Linked DNA regions of Homo sapiens: region 1 is linked to region 2. The links are contacts of gene promoters, found by promoter capture Hi-C in blood cells and fetal thymus (Javierre and others, 2016). All regions are on one chromosome and are shown on one strand. The core of a region is centred on a gene start or on the middle of the fragment in contact, and the rest is flanking DNA. Distances in the headings are between cores, read along the strand shown.

What was found. Contacts are between HindIII fragments. The CHiCAGO score rates a contact against its expected background, and 5 or more counts as called.
Region 1: a fragment that was not itself captured here is called in contact with the fragment with the promoter of MAP3K7 in region 2 in 5 of 17 cell types (M0 macrophages, M1 macrophages, monocytes and 2 more); the score reaches 10.5 in M0 macrophages.

The regions. Positions count from the first base shown.
Region 1 is chr6:89,918,889-89,926,661 of GRCh38, forward strand. It overlaps BACH2 (BACH transcriptional regulator 2), which reads right to left. Exons shown (of 9, transcript NM_021813.4): 9 at 7,640-7,773. Among named protein-coding and RNA genes, the nearest start is that of GJA10, 28 kb to the left of the region's middle. The HindIII fragment of the contact is 7,500 bases long and covers 1,941-7,773 here.
Region 2 is chr6:90,583,783-90,591,453 of GRCh38, forward strand. MAP3K7 (mitogen-activated protein kinase kinase kinase 7) reads right to left here and starts at 3,290. Exons shown (of 17, transcript NM_145331.3): 1 at 2,982-3,290. The coding sequence starts at 3,101. LOC124901363 (a long non-coding RNA gene) reads left to right here and starts at 3,012. Exons shown (of 2, transcript XR_007059680.1): 1 at 3,012-4,173; 2 at 6,866-7,177. RefSeq lists silencers at 3,110-3,229, 3,226-3,422. The HindIII fragment of the contact is 2,842 bases long and covers 880-3,721 here.

The DNA.
Region 1 (7,773 bases), core at 4,441-6,940, 660 kb before region 2:
GAGACAGAGTCTTACTCTCTCACCCAGGCTGGAGTGCAATGGCACGATCTTGGCTCACTGCAACCTCTGCCTCCTGGGTTGAAGTGATTCTTCTGCCTCAGACTCCTGAGTAGATGGGATTACAGGCATGCACCACCATACCCGGCTGATTTTTGTATTTTCAGTAGAGGTGGGGTTTCTCCATGTTGGCCAGGCTGGTCTCAAACTCCTGACCTCAAGTGATCCCCCCACCTTGGCCTCCCAAAGTGCTTGGATTACAGGCATGAACCATTGTGCCCAGCTCATTTTGGTTTTTTTTTTTTAGAGGCATGGTCTTGCTCTGTCGCCCAAGCTGGAGTGCAGTGGTGCAATCATAGTTCACTGTAGTCTCGACTTCCTGGGCCCAAGCTGTCCTCTCACTTTGGTCTCCCAAAGCACTGGGAATACAGGCATGAGCCACCAGACCTGGCTACATTTCGTTTTGATACATGCTGCCAATTTTTGCTCAGGAAGGGCTATTCCAACTAACCTCTCACCAGCATAGCACCCATTTTCTCATACTCTTGCCAACAGCAGACATTATCTTACTCCCTTCCCCATCTGATGAACTAAAAATATTTCTCTTTGTTTTATTTTACATTTCTGTGATTACTACTAAGGTCGTTCATATGTTTATTGGCTATCTGTATTTCTACCATGAATTGTCATTGTTTATTTTTCTGTTGGGATATTTATTGTTCTTCTGATTTCTAGGAGCTCTTGTATGGTATTATATTAACCTCTTGTCTATATAGACATTGAAAGATCTTTTTTCCCAGTCTGCTTGTCTTTTTTCCCTGTTTATGACATCTTTAAACTTGTAATTTTATATTTAGTATGAAAAATCTCTTTGCCTTCTAGGTTCTTTGTCTCGTTTGGGAAGGTATTTTTCAACTCAACATTATTATTTATTTTACTTTAATTTTTTTAGAGATAGGATCTCACTCTGTCCCCCAGGCTGGAGTGCAGTGGCCTCATTCACTGCAGCTTTGAACTCCAGGGCTCAAACGATCCTCCTGCCTCGGCCTTCCAAAGTTCTGGGATTACAGGCATGAGCCACTGTGCCCAGCCCAACTCAACATTATTAACAAGGATTATGAGGTGGATATTTGGAGGGTGGATTGTTATAATTTATTGAACCTTTTGGCTGAGAAGTTTTACACAATTTAACAATTACCAAAGAATGTGAAGAAGATGAGGAAGGACACCACTTTATTGAGGGCTGGATCATAGTCTGGACACACTGTGGACTTCCTCTCTGTAGCCACGTGCTAATTTCCATTTTACAGATAAGGAAATAGGTGACTTGCGGCCAGGCACGGAGGCTCACGCATGTAATCCCTGCACTTTGGGAGGCCGAAGCGGGCGGATCACGATGTCAACAGATCAAGACCATCCTGGCCAACATGGTGAAACCCCGTCTCTACTAAAAATACAAAACTTAGCTGGGTGTGGTGGTGCGCGCCTGTAGTCCCAGCTACTCCGGAGGTTGAGGCAGGAGAATCACTTGAACCCGGGAGGCGGAGGTTGCAGCGAGCCGAGATCACGCCACTATACTCCAGCCTAGCGACTGAGCGAGACTCCGTCTCAAAAAAAAAAAAAAAAATGGTGACTTGTCCTAAGTCACACAATTAGGTTGTGTGAAACACAGTCCTTGGGACAAAGCAGGGGATGAATTGATATTTATTGGATGAGCAAGTGAGCTGGAATTGGACCCTCAGCGTCTGACTCAACCCAAGCTCCTGTTCCTACACCCATGGCTGCCCCTTGCTCTCCCGGCACATGGCCTCCTGAGTTTAGCATATTTTTAGCATCAGAGATAGACTGTTATAAAATAGACAATTCTGTATTTGAATTAGTTTTCGCTTTCCATATTATGTAAAGTCAAAAAAATCCGGCTAATTTTCAGGGGACTAAGATGAAGCTTAGGAACAAATTGACTTTTTAGTTTTAGGCCTGAATTTTTGCACAAAACAACAAAAACCACAACAGGCAGAGGAGGCAGCAGGAAGGATCCAGAGTTTTCACTGTAATGCTATTGAGCACCACCTCTTACATGGACGTTCACCTGTGGGGAAACACAGGGACAGCTGCCGTCTGCAGCAGCTCTTTGATCCCCAGGATTTTTGACATATATAGAATCCCAGGTGGGTGGGTAGGGCTGACTCTTACAAGTTGTTTGAGTCTGTTTTGTTTTTTGGTTTCCTATCTCTTTCAGAACATGCTTCTAGAACTTTCATCTATTATGAAAAAATAATGCATCAGGAGCAGCTGGTACCTGCAGGAGGAGAGTTGTGCCTTTGTCAGCTCAAACTGCAGGAAGCGCTTTGGGACCCACACCCTCTACAGACACCCACCAGGCGAAGGGCCCTGTTCAGGGTGCTCCCAGCCTGGGCTCACTTCCACAGGAGACCCTTCCCTTATGGGGGCTGGGGACAGGTTCTCACCCTGCCTGGGCACACTGCTTGAGGGAGGTCTGATGCTCGGGCAGGGAGGAGCTGTACACCGTCAGAGGAGATCTAGGGACAAGAGCGGCTCTGCCTCGAGGAGGAGGATTGGTATATGTCACCTCTTCCCCAGTCCCAGCACAGCCTAGTGGGATATTTTGCAAGACAGTACCCCAGCTCTGCAGTGGCAGCAACAGTAGCAGTTGGCCCCTTAAACATGGGTCCAGAGCAGGACTGGAGCTTTGTGCTCAGCCTGAGGTCAGATGTGCTTCCTGTCTATAAAGGAGAGGTTGACAAGAAACTTTTCAGGCTTTTCCTCTCACCAGTTCATTTCTTGAGGATGAACCAGTTGGATTTTTAATTCATCAATGGCATGGAAATAAAATATTGATTAAAACACTGGCAAACACTCGCATGCCTTTTTTGTATCCCTCTGGGATGATTCATGAGTAGTGGTGATGCCATGATTGTGCCCCTGCAGGAGCTTCCTGGGAGTGGTAGAAGCCAGCACCTCTTCCTCACCCTGCCCGCCCTCCGAGTGGTCCTGAGTCATCCGGGAGAGTGCTCTGTGATGTGCACTGACTGGCCAACCCATGAGGCTGCTCCGCGGGTTGCTACTTGGCCGATCTTGGCTCACTGCAACCTCCGCCTCCTGGGTTCAAGCCATTCTCCTGCCTCAGCCTCCCAAGTAGCGGGGATTACAGGTGCCCACCACCAAGCCCGGCTAATTTTTGTGTTTTTGTATTTTTAGCCTTGTGGTAGCGAGGCTGGTCTTGAACTCCTGACCTCGGGTGATCCGCCCATCTCGGCTTCCCAAAGTGCTGGGATTACAGGCGTGAGCCACTGCGCCCAACCCTGAGTTTTTAGAGCCATAAAGGTGGACTCAATTCCCATGGAAAGAGCCTCTTAGCTTCCCCGTCCTCCACCCCATGGCCAGAGTGGCCCCCAACCCTGGCCACACACTTGATAATAAAGGCTTCAGGTTATAAGGAGAATCAATTTGGTTGAAAGTTATAAGGCTCGGCATCATCTATGTCCTATGAGATAAAAGCCACAGGAAATTCAGGCACTGGCCCCTGCCTCTGACCTCATTCCCCGCTTCTCACTTGTAGCCCAGCTGTGGCAGCTCTGCCGCTCCTACCTGCTGTTGCCCACCCAGCAGTCTGCTGCTGGACAGTGTCCACCTATCCTGTGGCTGCCTTTTGGGGACTCATTATTTTTATGGAGGCAGTTCCAACATATCTTCTCGGCCAACCCCATTCACTCACCATGCCTTTCTTTGTGGCAGCCCTGTAATTATAGTAACGGTGGGGGGGTAGATGATAGGGTTTTTGTTTTTGTTTTTGTTTTTTTTAAAAGACAGGTCTCGCTCTGTTGCCCAGGCTAGAGTGCAGTGGTGTGATCTTGGCTCACTGCAACCTCTGCCTCCCGGGTTCAAGCAATTCTCCTACCTCAGCCTTCCCACTAACTGGCACTATAGAGGTGCACCACCACTCCCAGCTAATTAAAAACAATTTTTTTTTTTTGTAAAAATGAGGACTTGCTATGTTGCCCAGGCTAGTCTGGAACTCCTGGCTGCAAGTGATCCTCCTGCCTCAGCGCCCCCATAGCACTTACATAGATTACAGGTGTGAGCTACCATGACCGGCCCCCAAAATGTGCCTTTTTAAGGGGCATACTATATTCCACGTGCTCACATTATCTATACCTTGTACAACTTGTCAAGTTGTTATTGTTCATTTTCATCTTATAGATCAGACAAGGCTCAAAGAGATTTTCTCCACAGTTAAAGATTACACGGCTGAAGTGCCTGCTGGAATTCAAATCCATATCCAGCTGCTCTGAGGCCCACAGTCCTTTCAGAAATCCTTGTTCTCCTTTCTGTAAAAGTCAGCAGCCCCTGGGCAATGATTTATTTGTACATCTCTCTGCCCAACTAGCCTGTGAAAGCTGTAAGGGTAAGGTATTTGACATCTTGGATGCTTAGCATGTAACACAGTGTTGGTTGAATAAATATATATTTATGTATAAACACCAAAGGCAATACCTTACCCATTGCTTCCAATTTTCCAGTCTTTATTTCTTATTCACTTTCTGTCATGTTGTGTCAATAAGTTTGTCAATAGGTTTCAGAGGCCTCTATGGCAACTTTTTTTGTAATTTCAATTTCTTTCACTCTGAAAAGTCTTTACAGGGTTGTCAAAAACACAGCACAAATGGAGGTTTTAAAAAACAAGTTTGAGGCTGGGTGTGGTGGCTCACGCCTGTAATCCCAGAACTTTGGGAGGCCGAGGTGTGGGGATCATGAGGCCAAGAGAGCGAGACCATCCTGGCCAACATGGCGAAACCACGTCTCTACTAAAAATACAAAAATTAGCTGGGTGTGGTGGTGTGCGCCTGTAGTCCCAGCTACTTGGGAGGCTGAGGCAGGACAATCGCATGAACTTGGGAGACGGAAGTTGCAGTGAGCCAAGATTGGACCACTGCACTCCAGCCTGGCAACAGAGCACGTCTCAAAACAACACAACAACAAAAACAAGTTTGAGCTGGGCCTGGTGGCCCACCTGTAGTCCCAGCTACTTGGGAGGCCGAGGTGAGAGGATTCTTGCGGCCAGGAGTTCACAGCTGCGGCGCACTATGATGATGCCTGTGAATAGCCATTGCACTCCAGCCTGGGCAACATAGCAAGGCCTTGTCTCTACAAAGAAGAAAAAACAAAGTCTGAAGGGCCCAGTGTAAAATGTAATGTTTCCAGTGACTGCTAGCATGTCTCTGAAGGTTTCCATTCACTGCTTCGGGATGAAGGGCACTGTCTCAGGGATGCACTTATCTTCAAGAAGAAAGAGTAAGAACTAGCCATGGAGAATCAGCAATGCCTCTTTGTGGCTAAGCAGGCCAGTGGCAGATGTGTGTCAGGATCTGCAGGAACCAGGGACGGGTGTGGAGACAGAAGGCGTCATGCTCTTGAGTGAAATGAAAGACACTTGCGTAATGGGATGTGTGGCTTTCTCCATCTCTTTGGGCCTTGATTTTTTGACACCAGGAAGTATTGTGTTCACTTGTACCACGAAGGCATAGGTGCTCAGTGAGGAGAATTGGAAACCCATTTCTGCTCACGGCACCTTCACCAGCTGCTGTTAAACATTAAGTACAATCTTGCTAATGCATCCCAAGTGGTGGGGCAGAGTTGGGTGAGGTGGTGGGTTGGAGAAGAGTGAAAGACTCTAAAATGATTTCAAAGAACAGCTCAGTTATTTCCAAATACATACAACAAAACTGCTGGCAGGGCCTGGTGTAGAAGGAACCTGTCCTCACTGCCCCAGAGGCAGATACAAATTTCCCATAAGAAGCACATGTAAAGTAGGAAAGAAAATGGCTGCTGTCCACCTGGGGCTGGACAGTGCTTAAAAGCTCTTTTGTAGCCGCGATTCCCAACCTTTTTGGCACCAGGGACTGGTATCGTGGAAGACAAATTTTCCACGGACCAGAGGCAGCGGGGGTGGGGGGATGTTTTCGGGATGACACCGTTCCACCTCAGATCATCAGGCATTAGAGTCTCATAAGGAGCTGCAACCCAGATCCCGCACATGCACCGTTCACAGTAGGGTTCGCGCTCCTATGGGAATCCAGTGCCACCGCTGATGGGGCAGGAGGTGGAGCTCAGGCAGTAATGTTCACTCCCCAGCTGCTCACCTCTTGCTGTGCGGCCTGTTCCTAACAGGTCATGGACCGGAACCAGTCTGCGGCCCAGGGGTCGGGGACGCCTGTTTTGCAGGACGCAACAGCTGGTGAGGTTTATTTTCCTTCAATGCATGACCATTATTTGTATCACAAGAGCAGATGTCAGGGTTGAAGGTGCACATGACCATCAGTTCTAAATTACCAGGTTTTCCCACAGAAAATTTTGGGACTCTGACCCACCTGTTTTTCTCAGAGTGGATTAACTTCACATCTTCAGGCGTAGGTAATCCGCCTCTTGTACCGAAAATGTTATGACTGCGACGTTGTCACAGCAGCACACATTTGCAAAACCCATGACCTGCTCTCAGGAAGCCTTCCTTGACTCCATAGGTGCCCATGGAGACTCGCCCGAGGGAGCAGAACTTGGCAGTTTTTAATTTCCGTTTTCCCATCTGGCGGTCGCATGCACTCCTTGAAGCGTGAATCTCGGCAGCACAGCCCTGCCCTGCCCGGATACCATGCGCATGCACTGGTTACAGCCTCGCTGACAGCTCAGACCCCCCTGCTCTGCTCTAGTGGCTTTCTCTCACCTCCGAGCTCCAGTCCAGTGTTCGCTCATGGTCACTCGACCTGCCCACCATTTGATATCTTGTTTTCTCTTTACATCAAAATCGAAGACATAACTATCAAATACACTTTTAGAATACAACTTTTAAACTGTACAGTCATGCATGGCATAACCATGTTTTGGTCAATGATGGGACGAATATATGACAGCGGTTCCATAAGATTGTAAACCCTATTTTTACTGCAACTTTTCTATGTTAAGATACACAACTACTTACCCTGGTGTTACAATTGCCTACCATATCCAGTACAGTTACATGCTGCACAAGTTTGCAATCTAGGAACATCTAGTCTAGGTGTGTCATAGGCTTTCTCATCTAGGTTGGTGTGGCACACCCTGATGTTCTCACAATAGGAAATTGCGTAAGGATGCATTTCTCACAACGTACCCCCTTCACTAACCAATGCATGACTGTATGGATTCCTCAACCACAATTCTAAACATCTTTCCTTGCAACTCACTGCATCTTGGTGTTGGCTTAATGTTCTTTCTCATTTACTTTCATTTAGTTTTTAAAAAATTCAGCCTATTTTGGATATAATTGCAGATTCACATGCAGTTGCAAGAAATGATACCCATCACCCAGTTTTCTCCCGTGGTAACATTCTGCATAGCGATAGCACAATATCAAAACCGAGAAATTGGGTTTAAAGCCTTTTATCTACTCTCACAGGCACTAGGGATTTTTAAAATTCAGAGTTTAGGAATCACATTAATATTATCCAATTTTAAAGATTCCTAATCAGATTAATCAGGTAGCAAGTAAGGGTCCAAACTAGAGGAAGAGAAATGGCCTCTAGGAAAAAAGATTTCCTGAGGTTTCTCACTCTGTAATTTGGAACATAGGGATCAGAGGCAGAGAAAATCAGTTTACAATGCATAATGATATGTCTTTATTTCATCAACAGAAATGGTGTCTAGACAAAATTCAGTTAACACTAGCAATTCAATTGAGTGAAAACTTTTTTTGCACAATAGTGTATTTACAATGAGTAAATG
Region 2 (7,671 bases), core at 2,040-4,539:
TGTGTAACACTTCTTGCAACCCATCCCCTCTTTTATTCCAACATTCTCTACAGCCAGTTCTAGATGGTAAACACTAAATGATGTTTAAAAAGTACCTAGGCAGATTTCTGAGGCTGAGACCTTACCTAATTTGACTGAATTGAATTGAATCTAAGATGTGCCAAACTAATACTACTGAGTTACAATATTAGAAATGCAAGATCAGCTAATGTCTTAGAAATATGTATCTACTAAATGGCTGCATATTTGGCCTGTAGTTGAATTATTATTTTTTTTACAGTTTCTAATTATATTGATATAATACAATTCAATTACATTGAGAAATACATGATTTTCTTAATTTAGAAGGTAATATTCTCATACAATATAAAATATTGGAAGCAACATAAAATAGTTTTTGTTTCTGGTCATCTTCCTCTGTTTATCTTACAATTGAACTGGAAGTGTAATCTAAGTTGACAAATAGCTAATAAGTGTTCATGGTTCACCCTGGATTGTGTAACACTGGTTTAATGTATGCAAATGAAGAAGATGATGGAAATTATGTAATGCTTTCAATATCAGAAAGGTCCAAATTCAATCTTTAATGCAAAAATGAACTAAGTATTAAACATGAAAGGGAATAAAACAAACAAAAAACCCAAATGACTGCCTGATATTAGAAACAAATTTTCATCTAAAAACAAAAACCTACTCCCAGAAATTTCCTAAACACACACACACCCACATACACACAAAGATTGAAACATTATCTAAACTGAGAGAAGGGTCTTGGAAACACAGAAACCTAACCAGAAGCGAAATAGCTTTAGGGGAAGAACATCAAAATGATAACTACCTCCTTAGTAATTTGTTTTTCCCTGAATCAAGAATGTAAAAAGCTTTAGAAAGTAGCATTCAAAAACTAAGGTTGTAAGAACCAAATGAAGTAAGTTTGTGAAAGCATTTAGTAGACCATAAAGCACAAGTTATTATTATATAACAATTTGTAGTCTACAAGCATAGCAATTCACCACAGAGCAGACGTAAACGCTTATTTAAAAACTGCAATTCTTGTATACTGACTCACTGAATTTTTATTCTTAAAAAAGAATATTAGCCATGAAAGCTGCATCAACTATCCACTTCTGGAAAAGGAATTTATCATAGCCTCAATGTAAAAAAAAAGAAACTAAAAACATTTCCCCCTCTTTTCAAAATACAGGTCTTCTTTTAGCCATATGACCTTAAAGCAGGTCACATTTCCTCTCTGGAACTAGGTTTCCTAATATGTGTCAGGCCCTGTGGTAGGTGTTTTGCATATAATGTCTACTAAGATCTGTTATGCAGATAAAATGAAACAGAATTTATTAGCCCTTTCTTAGAGTAAACTAAAATTCAAAGGGGTTAGGAAACTTGCCCCAAATCACACAGCTAATAAATGGCATATCTGATACACTGAACTTTCCTCTAACTCCAAAGACCTTGCTCTTTCCACCATATTATCTTGTAAAATGAGGATATTCTCAATAATCTCTAAAGTTACTTTATGTGATAAAACATATATAATTCAGTAATCCATTACTCTTCCAAAACATGCACAGGAAAAAAAATTTATTTGTTGAACGTTATCTCACTACTTTGAACTTGCTGACACTTAAAAATAATTTTAGAATTTTAAAGTAGACATAACTCGTTGACAATCTATAATATTTCACTAGGTTTTTCATGGACTATATAACGCAAAGTGCTTAATAAATTTAAAAAATGGCAAATAAATGGTAAGAGATAGTATTTTCAACCAAAGTTTTTAACAAGTTCTAAAGTGTCTTTAAAAAATATATATGCAGTTTTTACTTTTCTAAATTTTATAGTCATTAGAACCCAATTTACCTGTTAATTTGAAAAACGACGCTTTAAAGTCACTTTGAAATATCTTGTTCTAAAATAAATTACTGCAGAATAAAGAAAGGATATGGGTTTTCTGATAGCGATTTCTAGTCTAATATTATATTCTGATTGTCACCGAAATCATTCGTTATCTCTTCAGAATATGCTACTTGAAACATCTTTTGATCGTAGACCAGTCTATGTTACTTATGGTGAAATTCACCTACATTAGCCCAACTGAAAGCCGAGCATTTAAACATTACGAGTATTGCTGTGCGGTATCGGAGAAATTGAGAACCATTCGGTGCTAAGGGAAACACTTTATTAGACTTGATGATCTACTAATTTAACAAGCATTTATTGAGCATCCCCTACATGCCAGGTACTGAAGTAGAAGTCGAATATAATACAATCTTTGGCCATTAAGAACATTACGTCCGGCCGGGCCCGGTGGCTCACGCCTGTAATCCCAGCACTTTGGGAGGCCGAGGCGGGTGGATCATGAGGTCAGGAGATCGAGACCATCCTGGCTAACAAGGTGAAACCCCGTCTCTACTAAAAATACAAAAAATTAGCCAGGCGCGGTGGCGGGCGCCTGTAGTCCCAGCTACTCGGGAGGCTGAGGCAGGAGAATGGCGTGAACCCGGGAAGCGGAGCTTGCAGTGAGCCGAGATTGCGCCACTGCAGTCCGCAGTCCGGCCTGGGCGACAGAGCGAGACTCCGTCTCAAAAAAAAAAAAAAAAAAAAAAGAACATTACGTCCAGCGGACTGAAACTCCAGAACGGCTACGATCTTCGCTGAAACTACTACTTACAGATACGAGAACTGGTGGACCACACTATCTCACCAGTTCATTCTCCTGTTTATCACCGGAATATCAAATCCAAAATCAAGAGTACCCAAGAGAGGAAAAAAGGCAGCTACTCCCGAGCAGTTGAGCTCAGAGAGTAACCCCCACTCCCACGTTACTGAGGGCTGTGGGGTCTCCCGGGTGGACCCCGCAGGGTCCCGCGAATTAGAGGGGCCCCGGGAGGCACCTTCAGAGCCGGCACCAGGCAGAGGCGGGGGCGGGGCAGGCCGGGACCGGCGTCTCCATGCCGGGCCTCGCTCACCTCTTCCACCTCGATCTCCTTGTAGTCGATCTCTTCAAAGTTGAGGACCTGGGAAGGGGCTTCGATCATCTCACCGGCCGAAGACGAGGAGGAGGAGGAGGCGGCAGAGGCTGTAGACATGATCCCTCGCGGCGCCCGGTGGGGCCGGGAACGGTGCCACCCGGACAATCCGGGTGAGACCCGCGCCCACCCGCCTCCGGACCGACCCTCAGCCTGGAGCCGCGCAGTCCTACTACCCGGCGATCCGTGGCGGGGGTAGAGGCAGCGGCCACAGCCGTGTCCGGCTCTGGCTCCGCTGCGTTTTCCGCCGACGGGCCCCGCCCACTACACTTCCGGTTCCGGGCTGAAATCGGAAACAGGAGGAGGGCCGTAAACTCCGGGGTAGGGGAGGGGAGAATTTTGTGACTTGGAAAGAAAAGGAGGGACAGGTTGGGGGTGGGGTGGAGTAAGCTAAGAAGCAAACTTGGACCTCTAGAACAAATTTCGCGAGACCTTTATTACAGGGCCTCAGCAACCGGATGATACCGCGAGAGAGGACGCCTGACGTAATTAAAGTGCGCGAACGGAAGTGGCGCGGAACATGACGGAAAATCAGTACGGTTGGTCCCTTAAGGACCAGCGGGAAAGATAAAAGCTGGGGTTTAGTCTGTGCTGCGTGAAATATGTCTTGGCCTCACTTCCTGTCCTCTGAGCTGCCTGCAGCCGGGCGAGGTGGTGTTGAACTGTGTTTTTTGTGACGAAGCTTACTTTTAAGTTTCATCCCTAAACTAAGTTGACCTGTTTCTTTAAGACGGCTTGCAAAATGTGTTTTCCTCAATGTGGGATATGGAAAGAAGCAGTTGCTCCTGTTATTTTGAGCTAGTACCTGACGCTATGAGAAATTCTAAAAGAGCGAATCAGATCATGCAACATGAATAACTATGGAGGCTGAGTGATCAAGAACAGAAGTTAATATTTTGGTGTTACAAACTTTCCACGGATTAGGTGAATAAGATATTTATAATTTGGTGTGTTCATCTCAAGTTATGGATTACGAGTGCGGGGCACTAGTGCTTTAGATTGGTAAATGAATCATCAACAGTCGCCTTGAAAATCGAATATTTTTGTCACCATTTTCAGGACATGAGAAAACACGCTGAGAGTTTAAAGCAATTATGGTCCTCACAAACTAGATCATTCTGTCCCCAAGATGGTCAGTATTGCTCATGTTGTACTACCAGCACAAGTTTTAGTTTTAAACTAACTGTTGAATTTTATATAGTCCGTTTGACATAAAGCCTAACTGTGGAATTATGTTAAACACATTTGGGATTGCAAATAGATCATTGGATTTGACCATCAAGAAGTTACAAACTCCTGGGAAACATTCTGTCACTTTTTATTCGTAGTTCTAGTGACACGCAGTGACAGTTTGATGAGTGGATAAAAAAATGAAAGAAACGATAATTTCTTTTCACTGTACACTCTCTCTTTGCATGCTCTTACCCAAGGTCTCTGTTTCTCATACTATTTTTATAATGATGACTCCTAATCTCCAAATACTCAAGATTTTTCCTGAATTCTGGACCTATTGGTCATCTCTACTTAGACAAACACCTAAACTTCAAGATACCACAGCAAATTCAAAAGTTGTCACCCACCACAAATATATTCCTATGTTATTTTCCTATGTCACTTAAGGATGCCATCACCCAGTTGGTTGTCCAAGTGAGAAATCAGGGCATGTGAAATGATGCGTGGTGCACTGATACCCAGTAGAAGCTGATATAATCAGTGGGACAGTCATTTTCACCTGTCATTCCCCTTGCATTTCCAAACAAGGATGGTCACTTCTTACCTTGTGCTATAACTCTGCAGGTCTATATCCGATTTCCTTTTAACACCTTGATCTTGCTGCCAGGTGGGAACTCAATAAATACTTAGATATTCTGTACAAATGAATAGCTTTTGTCAGTCCTCCCTTTCCCTGGAGTGTAAGATATGTTTCCTGTACCTTCAGTTTAGGACTGGAATCTTGACAAAGGACTAATTAATTACCACAGCCATGATGCAGTTCTCCTGCTTGATTTTTCCCCCCAAAATTTTGTTACAAAAATGTCAAATATAGAGAAAAGTTGAAAGAATTTATGGTGAACACCTATATGCCCACCACCAGGATTCTACCTTTAACATTTTACTATACTTGCTTTATCATAATATACATATGTGCATCTCATCTCTCCATCCATATTTACATCCATCTACCATTTTGCTAGATGCATTTCAAAGTGAATTGATTACATGATTTTGAATATCTTCTACCCCAACACTTCTATGTTTTATCCACTGATTTGGACTTCTAATATTGATGCCAGTCTAAAATCAATTTTTGTCCAACTTGCTTGCAGATTACTTTTTTCTTTTTTGTCTGCCTGCGCCTTTTCCCTAGCTTCTAGTAATAGATGGAAAGTTTCATCAGTGTTTATGTCTCTGGGTTCAGTCATTCCCAAGGTCCAATCCATCTCTTACATTCTGTGATTTGGTTATGTGAGCTAGTAAATTACCATTTCATTTAAGCTGGTCCAAGTTGTATTTTTGTCACTTGTAACCAAATAATCCTAAGTAATAAAGTTTAAATGCAGAGGAATGATGGAGGGGAGCTGAACCTCTCTCAGTTCACTTCAATTTTGACTTTGCATTTCCTTTAACTTTCATGAATTAAGGATAGAAACTTGACCTCAGAATTTCATGTCAACTTCAGTCACCAGTCTGTGTGTCTCCACACGTTTCCGGATACATATCAAAACTATTTAAGTAAATTCCTTGAAGTCCCTCCGAGTTTGAGCACCCTCCACCATTCTCCCTCATGTCAGCACCCTAATAACTACTCTCTAACTTCCAACTCTGTCTTCAATTTTGGCCCTTTTATACTCTCCAGGGGTTGAGAGGACAAGGGTTTCAAAATCCATTTCCCACCACCTCTTTGCTTGTTCTAAATGAGATTCTGATCTTATTTGGCTCATTTTGGGTGTAGGGATATCTGGGACCTATTTTAATGGAGGCTTAGCAGAAACTGGGACTAAAGTAACACCACTTTAATGTTCTGGGTCATATATATGTCAGACAAGTGTTCCATATTTCCATCATAGGCTTGATGATAACATCAATAATTGAGTTTCCATTATTCTCTTCTGCCTTTTGTGGTATTTGCTATATTCTACAATAGTGTTTTTCAATCTTTTTTTTCATTATTGTTCTTTTAAGGAGCCTTTTTAGACATCTTAATGCCCCTCCTCAAAGTTTTAATACCTCAGATACACTGTATATCTATTTATGTATTGTATGTATATTTGTGCTTTCTATGTAAAAAGAGTAAGATTTTTTCTCTCTCCAGTTTTTGCCCCCTGTGGAGGTGTTATTGCCTCCATTGAGAATGCATGTACTAGCAGTTTCATTTTTCACATGACACATCACAAAGTACAACCGAGAGCATCTCTTGGTAGCCATCTCAGAAGAGCAGTTAAACATTCTTTTTCAAAAGCCCTTGGTAAGTTTACCCTTGAGGGATGGGGAACAGGATGCTTGAGGATACACACAGTCATGCGCTGCATAACGATTTTTTGGTCAATGGACCTCATATGTGACAGTGGTCCTATATGATTATAATGAAGCTGAAAAAATCCTATTGGCTAGTGACATTGTAGCCATAGTAATGTCATAGCATGACACATTACTTATAGTGCATTACTCGTGTTTGTGGTGATACTGGTGTAAACAAACTTATGCTGCTAGTCATACAAAAGTATAATACAATTATGTGCAGTGCATAATATTGATAATGATAAACAACTATGTTACTGGTTTATATAATTACTATACTATACTTTTTAATTGTTATTTTACAGTGTACTCCTACTTCCATAAAAAAACTATAAAACAGCCTCAGGCAGGTCCTTCAGGAGGTATTCCAGAAGAAGGCATTGTTATCATAAGAGATGACTGCTCCGTGCGTGTTATTGCCCCTGAAGACTTTCTGGTGGGACAAGATGTGGAGGTGGAAGATAGTGATGTTGATGATCCTGACCCTGTGTAGGTAGACCTAGGCCAACATATGTTTGTCTTACTTTTTAGCCAAAACGTTTAAAAACTATAAAAAAATAAATAAACAGAAAAAAGTGTATAGAATAAGGATCCAAATAAAATACTTTTGTACAGCTGTTCAGTGTGTTTGTGTTTTAAAGCTAAGTGTTATTACAAAAGAGTCAAAAAGTTTTAAAAAATTTAAAAGTTTATGAAGTAAAAGAGTTATAATAAGCTAAGGTTAATTTATTGTTGAAGAAAACTTTTAAAAAATAAATTTAGTGTAACCCAAGAGTACAGTGTTTATAAAGTCTACAGTAGTGTACAGTAATGTTCTAGGCCTTCGCATTCACTCACCAGTCACTCACTGGCTCACCCAGAGTAACTTCCAGTCTTGCAAACTCCATTTATGGTGAGTGCCCTATATAGGTGTACCATTTTTTTAAATCTTTTATATTGTTTCGTTACTGTACCTTTTCTATGTTTAGATACACAAATACCATTGTGTTACATTTGCCTGCAGTATTCAGTATAGTAACATGGTTTATACAGCTTGTAGCCTAGGAACAGGTATAGCTGTTATATACCTAGGTATACCATATAGCCTAGGTGTATAGTAGGCTATGTCATC